2 separate regions of the Homo sapiens genome follow, and region 1 is linked to region 2. Evidence: promoter capture Hi-C in 16 types of primary human blood cells and fetal thymus (Javierre and others, 2016). All regions are on one chromosome and are shown on one strand. The core of a region is centred on a gene start or on the middle of the fragment in contact, and the rest is flanking DNA. Distances in the headings are between cores, read along the strand shown. Region 1 overlaps DDX56 (DEAD-box helicase 56). Region 2 holds the start of LINC00957 (long intergenic non-protein coding RNA 957).

The links. The method cuts DNA at HindIII sites, captures the fragments that hold promoters and counts their contacts. A CHiCAGO score of 5 or more calls a contact.
Region 1: a fragment that was not itself captured here is called in contact with the fragment with the promoter of LINC00957 in region 2 in 1 of 17 cell types (endothelial precursors); the score reaches 6.0 in endothelial precursors.

Annotation. Positions count from the first base shown.
Region 1 is chr7:44,562,695-44,567,769 of GRCh38, forward strand. It overlaps DDX56 (DEAD-box helicase 56), which reads right to left. Exons shown (of 14, transcript NM_019082.4): 13 at 3,754-3,830; 14 at 3,110-3,385. The coding sequence ends at 3,308. Among named protein-coding and RNA genes, the nearest start is that of DDX56, 8.7 kb to the right of the region's middle. RefSeq lists a silencer at 2,905-3,116 and an enhancer at 2,970-3,469. The HindIII fragment of the contact is 1,715 bases long and covers 734-2,448 here.
Region 2 is chr7:44,036,547-44,041,688 of GRCh38, forward strand. It overlaps LINC00957 (long intergenic non-protein coding RNA 957), which reads left to right and starts at 2,503. Exons shown (of 3, transcript NR_072982.1): 1 at 2,503-2,603; 2 at 3,348-3,816. It also overlaps the pseudogene RASA4CP. RefSeq lists an enhancer at 1-337 and silencers at 3,789-3,878, 3,969-4,078. The HindIII fragment of the contact is 32,056 bases long and covers 1-5,142 here.

The DNA of each region.
Region 1 (5,075 bases), core at 341-2,840, 530 kb after region 2:
AGATACAAAAATTAGCCAGGCATGATGGTGGGTGCCTGTAATCCCAGCTACTCAGGAGGCTGAGGCGGGAGAATCGCTTGAACCCAGGAGGCGGAGGTTGTACTGGGCCGAGATGGCGCCACTGCACTCTAGCCTGGGTGACAGAACAAGACTCCATCTCAAAAAAAAAAAAAAAAAAAAGAAAGAAAAAAAAAAAGAATGCCCTTGTTTTCAAAAACCCTCCATCTTCTGTATCCTTTGAATTTTTAATATGTGACTATTACATTTTTTTAAAAAATCAAATTTTCAGCCCCCATTGCATATTTTGGTAACAACCCTCTGGTCTTTTCACCCTCAAATGTGCAGGGATCCCTCCCACCCCAGGGAATTTGCACATGCTGTCTCCCCTGCTAGGATTGCTGTTCCCTCCCACCCTTCCCATCTCAGCATAAACCTCACTTTCTCAAGGAAGGCAGCATTCTCTCCAACTGGGTGAGGGCCCCTTATAGCCCTCCAGTACCCTGAACTCCCAACATGACTATTGAGCAGTCTGCATTGGCTGACCATCTCTGCTCCTTGCCTCATAGACTGTGCCTTGTCCATCTGATTCCAGACCATAGCACAGTCCACACAGCCAGGCACCCATTCAGGTATACATGTGGGCAAAACTGTGCCAGCCCAGAGTGGAGAGGCCACTGCATTCTCCTGACCTTCCTGCTTCAGCCCAGGGCGTCACCAGCCTGAAAACCATCCAAGCTTCTCTGCTGTTTAGTGAAGCCTTAGGCTTCCACGCAGCATGTGCCACACCTCCTTCCTCCCTTCCAGGCCCACATGCCCTCTGTGCTGTTTGGCCCTGGACAGCCCTAGGTTCATTTGCCCATAGCACACATACCCTCATCCAAGGCCTGCCCCAGTCCTGATTTGCACATTTGTGCAAAGGGCACAGGCTTTGGCCAGACTAAGTCCAAGAGGCCAACCCTGAGTGCCTGTTTGTTCACACGTAAATGGGCACATGGTACCTGCCTCCCAGGTGGGGTGTTGAACGAGCCATTTATACTTACTTTCTCTCTGTAGTCTCAGGACACGAAGATGGACCTTCCTGTTCTTTATTTTTTAAAGATAGAGTCTCACGGCCAGGCATGGTGGCTCACGCCTGTAATCCCAGCACTTTGGGAGGCCGAGGTGGGTGGATCACCTGAGGTCAGAAGTTCAAGACCAGCCTGACCAACATGGTGAAACTCTGTCTCTACTAAAAATATAAAAAACTTAGCCAGGCGTGGTGGCGGCCACCTGTAATCCCAGCTACTCAGGAGGTTGAGGCGGGAAGAATTGCTTGAACCCAGGAGGCAGAGGTTGCAGTGAGCTGAGATTGCACCACCACACTCCAGCCTGGGCAACAAAGTGAGACTCTGTCTCAAAAAAAAAGAGAGAGAGTGTCTCAGTATGTTGCCCAGGATGGAGTGCAGTTGCGTGATCATACAGCCTCGAACTTCTGGGCTCAAGCAATCCTCCCATTCTTTCCAATGCCCTGGCCCCAGAGCGCCCACATGGTGCCTAACCCCACAGCAAAAGCCCCCGTGGTACCAGCTACTCCACCAGGGTGGACAGGCCAGAACCCAAATCTTGCAAAGAACCTCATTCACCAGGCAACTTCTAAGCCTCATCTTCCCCACCTAAAACATAGAAATAGCTTCCCCCAGGGATGCCGTTAGGAGGAAGGAATGTACACTTTGAACAAACAGCCTCCATATCTTTACCCAAGCTCCTCTGCTCCGGGCCCAGACCCTGCTATCCCCAGGCACGAATACAGCATAAGGCTGGCTCCATGTTCCTCTACCCCACCCCCCAAAGAAGGAAATCACTGGGGAAACCAATCTCCTCTCCATCAGGGTGGCTCTGGGATACAAGCTCTTGGTAGGGTGTGCTTGGAAGTGACAGGGTCAGAGAGATAAACATAGTGGAGACAGACTGTGCATCACTTTAGAACACAGCTTGGCTAAAACATCCAGAGCACTCACTGTCCCCAGGACCAGCCTCAGCACTCCATGAAGCCAGGTGGGAAGGCCAACCTAGGGCAAGGACCAGGCCTCAGCACTGCAGGCACTCTCTGCCCTGTCTTGTCTTCCAAGAGGTGGCAGCGATGCCCACTGATAGGGTCTGTGCAGTTGACAGATGTCTCCCAGCAGATGCTCAAATGGTTGCTCTTTATCTCCAGTTCCATTAACTCTTTGTCCTTCTGAATACTGCTAACCACCAAACTGCAAGAATATCGTCTGCAGCTCCTTAGCAGCTCTAGTTCACACCTGCCCAGAAAGTACCACTGTCCTGCCCCCATCATACACACTGGCTTCGTGGAAATCCTTGGGTGTTAACAGAAGAGGAGCAGGGATCATGGAGGCCCCAAATCTCGGGTCCTGCTAGCTTCAGTCCTACCATGACCAAAGACACAGACTCCTTCGTCTCTGTATAAGCTTTTGCCGAGAAAAAACTTGGTTCTTTCTAAAATACTCAGGCACTCTCCTAGTTTCTCCCCACTCTCCTGCTGCCCCAACCTCCTCATGCCCCCAGCATGGCCTTGTGACGCCTGGTAAGCAGGTGACATGCAATCTAGGACCCCAAGCCAGCAGAGAAGCCCAGCCTTCAGGCTGAGAAGGCAGCTGGAGAGCTCAGGCCAGGGCATAAGGGACAGTACACATGTGTGTATGTCACACCACCGCTTATGCACATAACACACAGACACAGCTCACACATCAACAGTTGTTCAGAAAGGGACCAGCAGATAGCTGCCCCGGCTCCTCTAAGGAAGAGCAGGCAGCTTCCCCCCGAATCTACATGTGCGTGTGCTCGGGGAGAGGAAGGCTGGCGGTCAGGAAGGCCCATCTCCCAGCCTGATCCCAGGCAGCAGGGCTGCAGGAGCTGGGCAGGAAGGCTCTGGGCCGGCCATAGCCACCTGCCAGCAAGGGCAGGCTTCTCTTCTCATGGCTGGGGCAGCTCGGCACAGCTGACCTCTGCTGGCCAAGTGAAGCACTGCATGCAGCCACAGAGCCAGGCACAGCTGTCTTCCGAAGTTTCCCGACTCCTGATGTTTTGGGGATTCAAATAGTCCTTTTCATATGCTGGAGGCACAAACTGGGGCAGCTAAAATTTTTATTCTGTTGTCAAGGGGCAAGATGCCAGCTTGGAAGTGCCAAGGAGCTAAAGGGCCCAGCACTGCCGGCCCCAGAACTGTCTGTTCAGGCTGTGCAGTAAGCACCAGAGCCTCGCCTGTCCACGAAGGGTGTAAGCCTGTGCTCCACAATGTGCTCAGCTCCAGAGAGGCCCAACAACCTCAGGAGGGCTTGGCTGTGGGTCTGAATTTCTTTCCTTTGTGCTTGAAGCTGCGCAGTGGGTTCTGGGACTTTGCTCTCTAAGGAGGCAAAGTCACAGGTTAGTTGGGGGAATCAGGCCGACAGACAATCCACCCACCCACCCACCCAACTGAGAAAGACACAAAGGGAGCCGTGCCGGCAACTGGCCAACACGACCAGAAGGTGCTGCAGATAAGGAAATGGGGAAAGGCAGCTGGGGAAAGAAAAGCAGGGCCTGCAGGCGGCTGCAAAAGTACCCCTATCCCACACCAGATTTTTGGGGCCCGGTTCTAGGGTGCCCCCTCTTCCCCTCCCTAGGGCACCCTCTCTTCCCCTCCCTAGGGCAAGGCGCCTCCACATTCTGGTGATGACAAAAGAGCAGGTTGGGAGGAGTCCTGGGGCTGTCCGCAGTCCCCAGGAGCCGTACCTTGGCCTTCCTACAAGAGGAAGACAGCTTCTTCCGCTTCTTGTGAGGGCGCACCAGGCCACGGAGAGCAGGAGGAACTGGAAGAGATGCTTGCCTGAGCAGTGGGCTCACCGCTACTGCTCCCATCCCTGCCCTCCCGCTGATTCTGCAGCAAATTCTCCAATTCTGACCCAACTGGCAGCCTATGACATACATCTATTCACTACCACATCTGCACAGGGCCAGGAGAATGTGAGCACCTTAGACTTCCACTATTTAAATCACTCTCCTATATTGTTTAGATTTGTTACAACAAACATGTAACAAGAAAGAAAAAGACAGACATCCTTAAAGAAAGAAAATGCAGCTGAAATAAAAGTCAACAGGTAGTTTCTTCACCTGTGGCCCATTACTACCGATACAGGGGGCCCCGCATCCCAGCTGCACCTGATCTTGGCTCTATCTTCACCTCGCCCACCCCATGGACTCCCCCAGGCCAACCACACCTGGGCCCTCCCCTTCAAATGTCAAACATCCCACATCCTGACACCTTTCCACCTTCTCCTGGCCCTTCTAAACCTCCTGGCCACACCTTGGCAAATGACTCCGCTATACGAGCAGACTGGGTTCCTGAGGCCAAAGTTCTAGCCTTACCTTCTCCCTCCCTACCCACCCTCCCAACTCCCCTCCTCACATCTCAGGCCAGGACCTGGACTGGGGTCTCCTCCAGCTCACTGTCCCATGGGAACCCGGCCCCCACCGCTCTCTCTGGCATTTTCATGTTCCCATCTCTTCTGGATCCTTCCTTTCCCAGTGCCCAGGCTTTTCCTGCCCTGGAACATTCCATCTCCACCCTTTGTCACCTCCATAGCAGCAACACCACACCCGCTGGGTGGCTGCAGGTCCAGGCTGAGCAGACCCTGTGGCATTGGGAAGGGTCCTGCACTTGCTGCCCACAGCCTCCTCTCCACCACTCTCCTCCTTCAATCCATTTTAGGCATAAAAGTCACACATACTCATTACCAAAAACACCTCCTATGAGACACTGAAAGAAGTCATTACCCAGAGCCTGCCAAAGATGAGGAGAGGTGCCCAGTATTAATGGCCACATAAAGCTCTAGCCTGGGCTGCACTACAGAAACCAATCCCAGGGTCCTGACCTCATGCCTGCCAACCCCTGCATCCCTCGCACCACCACTGGCTCTTCTCTTGCTACCTTGTCGGTTTAGGCCTTACAGAGTCTGTCTCCCTGCTGACTGTTCTTACCCAGAGACTCCACAGATGCCTCTTCAGCAGCTGCTAATCTTGAGTCTTTTGCAGCACAGGTGGCTCTCTCTGCCTCC
Region 2 (5,142 bases), core at 1,253-3,752:
ATAGAGCTCAGGCCACTCCCACAGGGCTCATGCCACTCCCACAGTACCCAGGCCACTCCCACAGCACCCAAGCCACTCCCACAGTGTTCAGGCCACTCCCACAGCACCCGCTCCCCTCCCCGCACCTTGCACTGCAGGTAGGCAGTCTGGGGCCTGCCGGCGTCGTCCGTGTAGATGACCTGCATGACGTGCGAGCTGCCAAAGTTCTTTTCCTCAACCTTTTCTGCTGCCCGGATGTTGGCTAACTTGATGAGGGCGCTTTTCTGGGGCAGTCAGGGAGGAGGAGGCTCAGGGACCTAGCCAGGGGCATTCCATTCCCCATCTCTGGGCCTCAGTCTCCCCTTCTGCAGCACCAGGGGTAGGCGTGGGAGACCCAGAGTGACCTCAGCCAGGGCAGAGCACAGACTGATGGTGACCAAGTGCCCAGCAACTGGGAGAGGAGGACCTGGCCTCTCTGGGGGGCACTCCCAGAAGGCCTCGGAGGTGTGAGCTTTGGGGTAGTGTCTGGACAGCCAGCATTCCCTGGGCTACAAAGTCAATCCAGCCGTGGCCAAGGCTTTGTGACTTTGCATTTATTAATTTTCCAACTTGCTTTTGTAGTCCCAAGCTCTAACAGTCATATCCTGACCGGGCGCAGTGGCTCACACATGTAATCCCAGCATTTTGGGAGGCCGAGGAAGGCGGATCACCTGAGGTTGGGAGTTCGAGACCAGCCTGACAAACATGGAGAAACTCCGTGTCTACTAAAAATACAAAATTAGCCGGGCATGGTGGTGCATGCCTGTAATCCCAGCTACTTGGGAGGCTGAGGCAGGAGAATCGCTTGAACCCGGGAGGCGGAGGTTGCGGTGAGCCAAGATCGCACCATTGCACTCTGGCCGGGGCAACAAAAGTGAAACTCCATCTCAAAAAAAAAAAAAAAAATGGGACCAGAATTAAATAATGCCCATGTAGTCAAATCTTTCAACCCTGGCAAGGAAGATGTATAATAATCATCTGAGTGCTTTGGGAGGCTGGGGCAGGAGGATTGCCTGAGGCCAGGAGTTTGAGAACAGCCTGGGCAGCATAGCAAGACCCCATCTCTGCAAAAAAAAAATGTTAAAGAAAATTAGCTGGGCTTGGTGGCACGTGCCTGTAGTCCCAGCTACTCAGGAGGCTGAGGCAGGAAGATTGCTTGAGCCCAGGAGTTTGAGGCTGCAGTCAGCTATGATCGCACCACTGCACTACAGTCTGGGTGACAGAGCAAGACCCTGTCTCAAAAAATAATTATCATCATCTGAGGGGTCTTTGGTCGGAAGGGGCGGGCCCCTCATCTGGTGGGACCCCTGAGCTGGTTGAGAACAGGGTGGGTGATGAGCTCCTTCACCTACTCCTAGCCTGCTCTCACCTGCCCAGGGCTAGGCTGGGTACTCCTGGAAGATCATCCCCATAGCCTGCATGACTAGGGGCAGGTGTACAGCAAGCAGTCACCAGGTCCATGGAGGAAGTATGTCCTCAGCCCTTCCTGGGAGAAGAGAGCTTGCAGGAGAGGTGACCCATGACTCAGAGAGGGCTGTACAAGGTGATCTTTGAGATCCCCTCCCACACCAAGATTCCATGCTTCTATATTCCTGCCCGTTCCAGGAAGCCTCCCCTGTTTGCCCTAGCCTCCTACTCATCTAGCAGCCCAGGTGATGTACTATCTTTAATAATACCATTTGCCTAAATAGTACTACCTGCCAGGCCCTGGGTCAGGACCCTTAGGGAGATCATCTCATTTAATCCTCAACAACCTGGTAAGGTCGGATCAACTTCCTCCATATTCATTTTTTTTTTTGAGACGGAGTCTTGCTCTGTTGCCCAGGTTGGAGTGCAGTGGCACGATCTCGGCTCACTGCAACTTCTGCCTCCCGGGTTCAAGCGATTCCCGTGCCTCAGGCTCCCGAGTAGCTGGGACTACAGGCACCCACCACCACACCCGGCTGATTTTTTGTATTTTTAGTAGAGACGGGGTTTCTCCATGTTGGCCAGGCTGGTCTCAAACTCCTAACCTCAAGTGATCCACCCGCCTTGGCCTCCCAAAGTCCTGGGATTACAGGCGTGAGCCACCGTGCCCGGCCCTCCTAGGTTCTGACAAGCAGTACAGATGCCACACACCTGGCTTTCTTCTCTGACCCCGGGGGTACCTCAAGTGGGCTCCAAGGAAGGGGACAGGTGCCTCTAAGGTGCCCCACTTGCCGGCCTCTCAGAGCCCCACTTGCCGGCCTCCCTCCTTACCCACCTTGGAGCTGGGCGTCTTCGCGAAGCTGAGGGCCTCGGTAGTGAGGGAGAAGTAGAGCTTCTTGAAGGAGGAGGACATGAGGGGGCCCTTGCCCTTGGTCCTGTGGATGAAGAGTGGCCCCTCCTTCACAGGTGGCGCCTGCAAACTCAGCGTCCGCTGCAGGTCCAGCTCTGCCAGGCCAGGGAGGGAGGGGAATAGAGAGCCCAGGGAATGAGGGCGGGACTGGGGGGGGGGGGCGGAGCAGTGGGCGGGGCCATGGGGCTCAAGGGCTGAGCAAATCTGAACAGCAGGCAGTGGACGTAGTCATGGGGCTCAAGGGCGGAGCAAACATCAACAGCTGGTGGTGAGCGGGGTGACAGGTGGACTGAGGAAGGCAGGGCCATGGGCTTGGAGGCGGGACACGCGTCAGTAGCAGGTGGCGGCGGGGCTATGGAGCTCAAGGATGGAGCAAATGTCAACAGGCACAGATGATGGGAGGTGAGGCCATGGGTCTAGGGGTGGGGCAAACGTCAACAGCAGGCAGTGGGCAGGGTCACAGGAAGCACAAACAGTGGTGCGTGGGTCTATGGCCTGGGGGCCTGGCAAATGTCAACAGCAGGCGGTGGGTGGGGCCACGAGAGGAACAAACAGCGGTGGGTGGGGCCGTGGGGCTCAAGGGCGGAGCAAACGTCAGCAGTAGGCTGTGGGCGGGTCTGTGCAGGGCGGCGCTCACCGTCCTTCTCCTCGATGTCCACGAGCTTGGTGATGAAGTCCTTCAGCTGCGCCACGCCCTGGCGCACGGTGGGCTGCAGCGGCTCCATCCAAGCCTCCTTGGCCCTGGAAGCCGGCGTGTCCATGTTGCCCACGTTCTGGACTGCCTGGAGGTGACAGCAGGAAGGACCAGGTTCTGCTAGGTTAGGGGCCTAGCCACTGCACCCCCTCCCACCCCCCCTCCCCAAGTCTTTGCTACTCAGCTGTAGCGATGGAGGCAGAGGCGACAGAGGCCATGCCCACGGGCCCCCTCCAGCCCCACTAGGGATCAGGGAGGAGAGGATCATGAAGTTTGATGCCTTATGATAACTGAGACCACTTGGGCCTTCCTCTGTAGGTTTAACTGACGCTGCTGCACTGGATACCCCACCCCGGTGCCGGGCACATAGGTGCAGCCTGAGAGTAAGCAGACCTGGGTTGGAAGGTCCCGCGATTCACCACCGACAGGATGGGCGGCCTTGGCAACCCCCGACCCCTCGCAGGCCTGTTCCCTTATCCATGAGATGGAACTCGGACAAGGTGGCCACAGGAAGGCTTTGCAAACTGTGAAGTGCAGTGCCTACGTGGGCGTGCCAGTGGCCTCGCCGGAGCCGGTAGGGAACACTCTGCAGTCCAGGCCAGGGCCCCGGTAGGACACCCAGCTGTGCATCCCGCCCGTGGCCGCAAGGCCCGCACCTTGGCCAACAGGAGCAGGGTGCGGCTGGTGCGGGCGTCCGCGTGGCGCTCCCGCAGGTGGAAGAGCTTGGGCGACATGATGGCGGGAGAGAAGAAGCGCAGGCACAGGAAGCTGGTGACGGCGATGAACGGTACATTCTGGAGGGGTGCGGAAGAGCGCGGGCTGGAGTCCCCCAGACCAGGGCTCCTGGCAGCCCCCTCCCCTTAGGCTCCGTCCCTGACCCTCGCCGGGACACAGCCTCCCTGGTCCTCCCCAGCGCTCCCTGGTTCCCCACCGCTCTTCGCCCGCCCCTCGCCCCAGCCCAGTCCAACCCGGCCCAGCCTAGCCCAGCGGGTGGAGGGCGCACCTCGTGCTGGGCGCCGGGGAAGCGCTCGCGCACGCGCCGGAAGAGCTGGCGGAAGGTGGCGCGCACCACGGCGGGGCACGCGGGAACCGAGCGGCTGAGCGCGCTCAGCAGGGCCCCCAGGTGGGCGCGCAGCGTCTGCGCGCTCTGCTCCAGCACCTCGGCCTCGGTCTGCGGGCGGTGCAGCCCGGAACACCTGCGTGGAACGGGGCGGGTTGGCAGAGGAGGTCACGGTCAGCGCCAGGGCCACGACAGGAACAGTGGCTCTCACAGCAGCCGGGACACGGACACAGGGGACAATACACGGGTGGGCAGAAGCACAAACACACATGCTGACAGGGCCTGATCCCAACCCGCTGCCGCTGCGCCCCGCACCCCCCCGGAGTTACCCCCGGCCTCACCCTACATCCTTAACTTCCACTTTGCTGGGGTCCAGCTCCACGTACTTCTCCTCAAACACCTTGTTGATGATGGGGCCCAGGACGCCGTGCAGGTACTGCATCCCGGCCACCTGGGGACCACCGCAGGTCACATTGATCCTGTCTCCCCCAGTCCCACTCCAGCTGCCCACCTTCTCCCGGCAGCCGCCCTTGCACCGTTTGCCTGCCGTATCCGCCCAGGAGGGGGACAGGTACACAAGCAGGGCAAACTGTTTATTCATGAATGAATGAATGAGTGAGTGAATGAATGACTAGAATTCTTAGCCCTTGTAATCCTAGCACTTTGGGAGGCCGAGGCAGGAGGATCACTTGAGGCCAGGAGTTTGAGACCAGCCTGGGCAACATAGTGAGACTGTCTCTAACTTAAATTTTAATCACACACACATTCTTTTGGGGGGGGGGGGTGCGGGGCACGGAGTCTAGCACGGGGCCCAGGCTAGAGTGCAGTGGCGTGAGCTCACTACAATCTCTGGCTTCTGGTTCAAGTGAGTCTCCTGCCTCAGCCTCCCCAGTAGCTGGGATCACAGGTGCCCACCACCATGCCAGGCTAATTTTTGTATTTTTAGTAGAGATGGGGTTTCGCCATGTTGGCCAGGCTGGTCTCGAACTCCTGACCTTAAGTGATCCGCCCGCCTCAGCCTCCCAAAGTGCTGGAATTACAGGCATGAGCCAC